Regions from separate parts of the Homo sapiens genome. Here all the other regions are linked to region 2. The links are contacts of gene promoters, found by promoter capture Hi-C in human tissues and cell types (Jung and others, 2019). All regions are on one chromosome and are shown on one strand. Each heading gives the region's core, a stretch centred on a gene start or on the middle of the fragment in contact. The rest is flanking DNA. Distances are from core to core; before and after follow the strand shown. Region 1 overlaps LOC105370631 (a long non-coding RNA gene). Region 2 holds the start of UBR7 (ubiquitin protein ligase E3 component n-recognin 7). Region 3 overlaps PRIMA1 (proline rich membrane anchor 1).

Evidence for each region. The method cuts DNA at HindIII sites, captures the fragments that hold promoters and counts their contacts. A contact is called where the count stands out against the background at its distance.
Region 1: a contact is called between a fragment that was not itself captured here and the fragment with the promoter of UBR7 in region 2, in 2 of the 25 tissues and cell types used here (pancreas and stomach).
Region 3: a contact is called between a fragment that was not itself captured here and the fragment with the promoter of UBR7 in region 2, in 1 of the 25 tissues and cell types used here (hippocampus).

Annotation. Positions count from the first base shown.
Region 1 is chr14:93,883,492-93,886,191 of GRCh38, reverse strand. It overlaps LOC105370631 (a long non-coding RNA gene), which reads right to left. Exons shown (of 3, transcript XR_944162.3): 2 at 1,672-1,836; 3 at 788-1,397. Among named protein-coding and RNA genes, the nearest start is that of FAM181A-AS1, 42 kb to the left of the region's middle. The HindIII fragment of the contact is 5,900 bases long and covers 1-2,700 here.
Region 2 is chr14:93,205,846-93,208,545 of GRCh38, reverse strand. UBR7 (ubiquitin protein ligase E3 component n-recognin 7) reads right to left here and starts at 1,290. Exons shown (of 11, transcript NM_175748.4): 1 at 1,105-1,290. The coding sequence starts at 1,254. GON7 (GON7 subunit of KEOPS complex) reads left to right here and starts at 1,481. Exons shown (of 2, transcript NM_032490.5): 1 at 1,481-1,716. The coding sequence starts at 1,509. RefSeq lists an enhancer at 1,385-2,244. The HindIII fragment of the contact is 21,573 bases long and covers 1-2,700 here.
Region 3 is chr14:93,775,007-93,777,706 of GRCh38, reverse strand. All of the region lies in intron 3 of PRIMA1 (proline rich membrane anchor 1), which reads left to right. Among named protein-coding and RNA genes, the nearest start is that of PRIMA1, 12 kb to the left of the region's middle. The HindIII fragment of the contact is 7,093 bases long and covers 1-2,700 here.

The DNA of each region.
Region 1 (2,700 bases), core at 12-2,511, 680 kb before region 2:
ACAGAGCAACAGGAACTCTCATTCATTTCTGGTGGAAATGCAAAATGGTACAGTCACGTTGGAAGACAGTTTCATTTGTTGTCTCTCTTGCAAAACTAAACATCGTCTTTGTTTATGTTTAGCTGAAACACATGATCCAGCAATTGTATTCCTAGGTAATTACCCAAATAAGGTAAAAAAATGTCCATGCAAAACCCTGCACATAAATGTTTATAGCAGCTTTATTCATAATTTCCCAAAACTAGAGGCAATCAAGATAGACTTCAAAAGGTGAATGAATAAACTGTGGTACATCTGTACAAGGGAATATTATTCAGCAATAAAAAAAATGAGCTGTCAAGCCAAGAAAAGACATGGAGGGATCTTAAATGCATATTACATTGTGAATAAGCCAGTGTGAAAAGGCTACATACTGTGTGATTCCAACTATATGACAAAACTATAAAAATATTGTCAAGGCTAGTGGTTGTCAGGAGTTTGGGGGTGACAGAAGGGAGGAAGGATGAATAGGTGGAAAGCAGGAATTTCAGGGCAATGGAACTATTCTGTATGCCACTCTGATGCAGATACATGCCATTAAGCATTCATCAAAGCCCCCGGAATCTGTACCCTCGCATAAACTATGGATTTTAGTTAATAATAATGCATCGAGATGGTTTCATCAATCTTAGCAAATGTACCCCACTAATGCAAGATGTTAATAATAGGGAAAACTGAGAGTGGGAGGGAGGGGGCCTATAGGAACTCTATCTACTGTCTCCTCAATTTTCTGTAAATCTAAAACTTTTCTGAAAAATAGAAGTCTATCTTTTAAAAATAAAAATAAAAATAAATAAAGCATGCATGTATATCTGTCTACTTCCTGGGGCAGCTGGAAGGCTATGTGAGATAATATATGACAAGCACTTGGTGGAGGACCTGGCTTATAAGAGGTGATCAACAAATGCCTGCTACTGTGGTTGTTGCAGTGGTTATTGGAGCTGTTGTGGTTATGATTGTGGCTGTTGTTAAAATTGCGTCAGGTTGCTGTGGTCTGTGGTTATTTTGGGAGCTGTAGCTGTGGTTGTTGGAGTTGGTGTGGTTATTGGGTTTGTTGTGATAATCACTGGAGTTGTGATCACTGCTGTGGTTGTAGGGTTAGGGTTGTATTTGCAGCTGTGGGGGATGTGTTGGCTGTTGTGGGTTTTGTTACAGTTGCTGGATTGTGTTTCTCATGGTGGTGGCAGTGCTTGACTTGTGTTGGTGGAATCATTGTGGAAGTTGGCATGGTGGTGGCTTGAGCTTCAACAGCCTGCAGAGGGCTGAGTCCGGATTCTCTTTCCCAGGTAAAGGTCTTGGTTAAACACTTTGGGGCTTGCAGAGTCTTCATAGAAGCTGAATTTCAAAGAGCTTCAGTTCTGTAAGATGATAAGATTTGGGGCAAAAATTAAGTGAGACAAAGACAGACATGAATGGAAGAAGCAGGAAATGAGGGAATGTGTCAGGAGTGAGGGTGGCTCCAGTGAGCCCTGGCGTGTGAGCCACCTCCACTGATCACTCGGCATTCATGGAAGTGGCACTCCAGAGTGTGACTCACCATTCGTAGAATTCTCTAGAAACGGATTCTTTTTTTCATAAGAAAGAACATATATTTTTTAAAATTAAGTGGAGAGAAGAACCAGCCATCCGTACCTCTGGAATGAGCTGGCCTCTGGAGAAACTTTGTCTCCTTCAGGGAACGGTGCGGGAGTTCTTTGCGATACATTTGTAGGAGAATCACTTGAACCCAGGAGGCGGAAGTTGTGGTGAGCCAAGATCGCACCATTGTACTCCAGCCTGGGCAACAGGAGCAAAACTCTGTCTCAAAAAAAAAAAAAAAAAAAAAAAAAAGAGAGAGAGAGACATGTTTTCTTTCTTTCATATGTGTCTGTGCCTAGGGATTTTCATGGTTGTGATTTTATACAATTGGGTACCTACTATTCACTTAACTTTATATTCTAAGTGTGCTTTCATGTAGGTACTTTTTTTATATATAATCATCATTTTCATAATAATTTAATGGTTAAAACCAGGAGTTGGCAAATCATGGCTTTTGGGGCAATAAATAAATCTTTATAAGTAAAGCTTTCTTGGAACATAGCTACACTCATTCACTTACACATTGCCTATGGCTGTTTCTTGCCACAATAGCAGGTTGAGTACATATTGCACACAGGCAATATGGTTCAATAAGCTGAACATATTTACTTATCTGGCCCTTTTCAGAAAACATTTGCCAACCCCTGTTTTAAATATGTTTTTGCCAAATAGCTTTTCAAAAGCTTCGTATGATGTTTTTGAGCATCAGGGTGTGATGGCTGATGCCTGTAAACCCAGCACTTTGGGAGGCCAAGGCAAAAGGATCACTTGAAACCAGGAGTTCAAGACCAGCCTGGGCAACATAGCAAGGCCACGTCTCTACAAAAAAAAAAAAAAAAAAAAAAAAAAAAAAAAAAAAGAATTGCATTAATTTACATTACTATCAATATTGTGAAAGGGTATCAATTGTTCTGCATCCAGGCCAGCATTTGGTGTTTGTTTTAATCTTTGCACATTTTTAAAATGAGACAAATAGTATCTTTTTTTCAATTTGAATTTCTCAAATTATTGGTGAGTAATTTTTTCCATTTATTATTTACTTTTTGAATGACTTCTTTTCTGAATTTTCTGTTCATATTCCTT
Region 2 (2,700 bases), core at 41-2,540:
AAGGAATCCATTTTATAAAGGTAACTACACTTCAAAAATAGTTTACATATAGACATAACTTTTTTCTTTTTTTTTTTTTTAAGTAAAGCAGGGGAAAAATTGTTTTAGTGGTGACCAAAGGTTTTAAAATACCTGGGGCTATGTCTGGATACCAGGTTTATTCAACAATCTAGCACTTTGCAGTGTAAACTAACCTTGGTCAACAACGAGAACTGGTATTATGATCTCAGTTCATACCACATAATGAATACAAGTCTCTCCCCTCATCTCCCCAGTGTTCCAATCCACCCCTCTTCCTAGGTAACCCTTCTTCCTACCAATTCTCATCCTTTGTCAGTCTTCTTCCTACCCATCCTTTTCCATTTTTGTACCTCGAAGTGTAGGGTGAGTCACTAAACACCACATCACACCCCCTCAAACACTTGCTCACTCACAACGTCTTCCAAATGCCAAACAGATCCTTTTCTCCTCTCTCCCCTCCCTTGCCAGAGCCACTTGCTGTTCTGTTTCCGGTCTATTTCCAGGGGAGGGGGGCAGACTGCAGATAGACATGGGTACTTGCTTCATTTTGCCAAAAAAAGAAAGAAAGAAAAAGTACTAGCTAGCACTTGTCCAACTAAATTGCAGAGGAACTAGCTGTCAAGGAGCTCACCGCAAATCCCTATGGATTTGAAAATCTCTTTAACCTGACTCTCCCATTCGGTCCCTAATAAATAAATAAATAAATAATCTTAGGATGGGAAAATCAGGGACAAAGATGTCTGGATCTGAGAGGTCGCGGGGTGGTTTCGTGAAAAGCAGTGGTGCACCAAGAAGAGGCTGGAGAGGACGGACAGAGCAGCTGCTCCAGGGCCCTTCCTGGCGGGCCGGACAGAGTTGGAGACAGGGGAGAGGGGGGCCCCTGCTGGACACAGGCTGAAGGGGGCCCAGGAGGTTGGGGTTAAAAGGGAAGGGTGAGCTTGGGGTGAGGAAGCGGCAGACTAACGGCGGCCCCGGACCACCACTGGGGAGACGACTGCGGCAAGGCGGGAATAGGGACAGCCGGGCCGGGAAGGGGAGGTTCGGCGGGAGCCGGGGGAGAGGAGGCCCGGGCCGCGCGCCCACCTGAGAGTAGGAGCACTTCTCGGAGTCGCTGCCGCCCAGGACAGCGCACGCCTCATTCTCCAGCTCCTCGTCCTCCTCAAGGACGTCGACCAACGATACCACGGGCTCCAGCTCCGACTGCCGCCCAGCGGCGCCCTCGGCTCCGGCCATCCTCAACTGTCAGCCGAACAGCGGCTCGGCCCCGGCGGAGGCGGGAAAAGCGGCCGTGAGGGGCGTAGCCGGAGGAGGTGGGGCCCGAGTGCCAGGAACCAATGACAAGGAAAAAAAGCGAAGGAAGGGGGAGGAGCGACTTCCGACAAACGGATGTCACTCCTCTCCCTTCTCCCGCCTGCGCCGGACGCGGGCTGATTTCCGCCTCCGGGTGGCGCTTCCCGGTGTCGTGTTCTGGAAGCTTAGCGGTCACCATGGAGCTGCTGGGAGAGTACGTCGGGCAGGAAGGGAAGCCGCAGAAGCTGCGGGTGTCCTGTGAGGCGCCGGGTGACGGCGACCCTTTCCAGGGCCTGTTGTCTGGCGTGGCCCAGATGAAGGACATGGTAACGGAATTATTCGACCCTCTGGTACAGGGGGAAGTGCAGCACCGGGTGGCGGCGGCTCCAGACGAGGACTTGGACGGTGAGCTCTGAGACGGTGCTGCAGTGACCGGAGGACGGGGCGGGCGCCCAGGGGAAATTGGCTTGGGGAGCCCGTGTAGAGTGGCAGACTTGGACAAAGTGAGCCTCGAGGAAAGAAGAATTGCATCTAAAAATTTTTGGCGGGCTAGGCGAAGTGGGGCTCACGCCTGTAATCCCAGCACTTTGGGAGGGCGAGGCAGGAGGATCACTTGAGGTCAGGAGTTCCAGAACAGCCAGGGCAACATATCGAGACCCCGTTTCTATTATTATTTTTAAAATAATTTAAAAAATAAAAATTGTTGGCATTTATCACTATATTTATTTGGGCTGCTTCTACTCAAGCGTTTCCACAACTCATCGCTATTTCGTTTATTTCACAAAAAAACGTGTCGAATGCCTACTATTATGTGCCAAACCCTGAGCTGAGCCCTGGAGGAAGAATGAGGTGAATGCGACTCAGTTCCTGCCCTTGTGAAACACAAGGGGACTAGACAGGCAGACACTCTTATTAAAAGTGGAAGTGGTCCGGGCTGGTGGCTCACGCCTGTAATCCCTGCACTTTGGGAGACCGAGGCAGGCAGATCACGAGGTCAGGAGTTCGAGACAAGCCTGGCCAATATGGTGAAACCCTGTCTCTACTAAAAATACAAAAATTAGCTGGGCGTGGTGGCATGCTCCTGTAGTCCCAGCTACTCTACTCGGGAGGCTGAGGCAGAAGAATCGCTTGAACCCTGGAGGCAGAGGGTGCAGTGAGCCGAGATCGCGCCACTGCACTCTATCGTGGGCGACAGAGCGAGACTCCGTCTCAAAAAAAAAGAAAAAAAAAGTGAAAGTGGTTCTGTGGTCCTCTGTAACTGTTGCAAACCCAGACACCCTAGGAAGTCTTCAGAAAGGATAAGACTTTTGAGCTGGGTGTTGAATAAAAAGGAGTTTTATCAGGTGTGAAACTACAGACATACTTGGAAGAGTACAATCTATCGCAGAG
Region 3 (2,700 bases), core at 98-2,597, 570 kb before region 2:
ATACCTGAATAGTTAAGCAAAACAGTAGCCCCAGTAAATAGTAACAGGGGTCTTTAAGAATAAATGGGATTGGTCGGGCACAGTGGCTCATGCCTGTAATCCCAGCACTTTGGGAGGCTGAGGTGGGTGGATCATGAGGTCAGGAGTTCGAGACCAGCCTGGCCAACATGGTGAAACCCCGTCTCTACTAAAAATATAAAAATTAGCCAGGCGTTGGTGGCAGGCGCCTGTAATCCCAGCTGCTCCGGAGGCTGAGGCAGGAGAATTGCTTGAACCCGGGAGGCGGAGGTTGCAGTGAACCAAGATTGCGCCACTGCACTCCAGCCTGGGCCACAGAGTGAGACTCCGTCTCAAAAAAAAAGAATGAATGGGATTGTTCCAGGTTGCTAATCAGGTTGGGGGAAAAGGGCATCCAGGCAGAAGGAAGCGCATGGACAAAGGCTTGGAGGTATGGCTCTGTGAGACTCCTCTTGAGAGTCACAAGCCCTTCAGTGGCTTGAAAGGGTGGCCAAGGAGGAGGACCTAGAAGGGCCTCGTGTGCCTGGCTGAGCAGATCGCATTTCATCCTATGGGTCATTGTTTACCAAACAATGATCTACATTCACGCATATCCAAGTACCATCTCTTATTTGCCTTATTTTTTTCTTTAAATAAACTCATTTTGTGTGTATACAAATTAATCTCCTTAACTTTACAAAACTACTCTAAATGAGAAACTAGTTCCACTTGCATAAATGGAAGGTGACCATAATAATAAATGCAGTGGAAGCAAACCAAGCTTTTAAAATTCCAGCTTTCTCTGGAAGATTCTGAGCTTGAGACTTTCTCTCTATTTGTTAAAAAGGGAGAGAAGTAAGCGGTAGAGAGATGTGAAAGCCATAGTGGCACAGTGCTGAGACCTTCTCTATAAAGTAATTGGAAAGTTTGTAAGTGAATCAAAAGGAGCTTAAGTTTCTTATTACAGGTTTCAATGTGTTTGAGTGCTGGGTCCATATACCATCTAAAATCAGCTCTCATAACTGCAGGGACATGGACCCAGTGCTTTAGGAAACTGCTCTGGGCAGTGATGAGCCTACGAAGGTGTTAAGTGGGGAAGTGACATGAGCCTATATTGTCTGTTTCAGAAAGATCAACTGTTTTGACAGTGTGGGTTGGATTGGAGTGGATTGGGGTTGAGCTGGCAGACTGGAGTCAGGTGGGGGTCTCTTGAGATCATTCAGACCCCAGACCATCCAAGAGGGCCTGAAACCAGGCTGGGGGCTACGGAGATGGGAGGAGGCTAGAGGAGAGTGCTTGGTTGAGTACAGAGAGAACTCATGTTGAGTTTTGGGACTGAAGGTGCTTCTTGGGAGAGGAGAGTAAGAGAGGAGAGCTCTGTATGGCAGGACTTTTTCTGTTTCAAGTAGCAAAAACACATCTTGAAGTGGTTTAAGCAATACAAAAACTAGGGAGAAAGATGTTAGCTTGTGGGCTCACGTATCAGGATATCCAGGCAGCAGATCTGCTGAATCCATGGTCTCAAATGATGACGGTATTGGATTTCTGTCTCTGGCTCTGTCGCTCTCTCCTGATTTCTCCTGGGTTGCCTTTTCTCTCAGGCTGGCTCAGTTCCTGTAGCTCCAGGCTCCAGCATTCCATCATTCTTACAGGCAGTAATATCCCTAGGAAGAGACCTTCTGTTTCCCAGTAGTCCGAGGGAAGTCCTGAGGCTGACTTTTGCTGGACTAGCTTGGGTCATGTGCCCACCTGTGGACCAATCATGGTGGCTTATGGGATAGAGTATGCTGGTTGGTCAGGCCCGGGCCATGTGACCACCCCTGGAGTTGGGATGTGTGGATAGAGGCTCAGGGAGAGGTGGTTTCCCAAAGGAAAATCCGAATAGAAGGGCTAAAACCCAAAAATAAGAACATGGCTACCAGGCCAGGAGGGCAGGGAATGTCTATCATAGCCATGGAGTGCCTCCGGCATGGAAGGTGGATTAGACCAGTGGTGGAGAATGTGATTTATTCATTCTCTTGGTCCTCCTTGAGCTCAGCCCAGAACCCTGCACACAAGTAGTGCCCAATAAATGTCAGAGCTACGGCCACATCCACAACTTCTGCCAATCATAAAATACGGAGGCGGAGGTTGCAGTGAGCCAAGATTGCACCATTGCACTCCAGCCTGGGCAATAAGAGCGTAACTCTGCCTCAAAAACAACAACAACAGCAAAAAACAACAAAACAAACAAAAAAAACAAGTGCCTGCTATATAACCCTGAAGGAATTCATGTCTCCCAGAGGGCACAGGGCTTCAATGCTGTGGAGCCTCAGCTCTCACTCAACAGGTGCACACTGAGCTCCAAATGTGGGGCATGGTGCCAGGGCCCGGGAACCAGCAGTGAGCAGCAGACAGCTCCTGCCCTCATGGAGTTCACAGTCCAGTGGACTGTCATTTGCAGAAGGTGTTCACTGGAGTGTCCCTTCCTGCCATCTCTCTGGATTCACTGGCTCAAGGCATGTGCCAGTCCTTGTCCCATTTGCTCATCTGATGTCCTTTGCATTCTTGCCACTCACAAGGGCCTCTCATTCACCTGGCGAGCATTTGCCAGGCACCTGTTCTAGGTCCAACCCTGCGTTGGGCATCCTGAGGGATACAGAGTCACACAGGGACTTATCCACATCAGCAGGGCCCAGGTCATGAAAGGCCAAGGACTTGGCA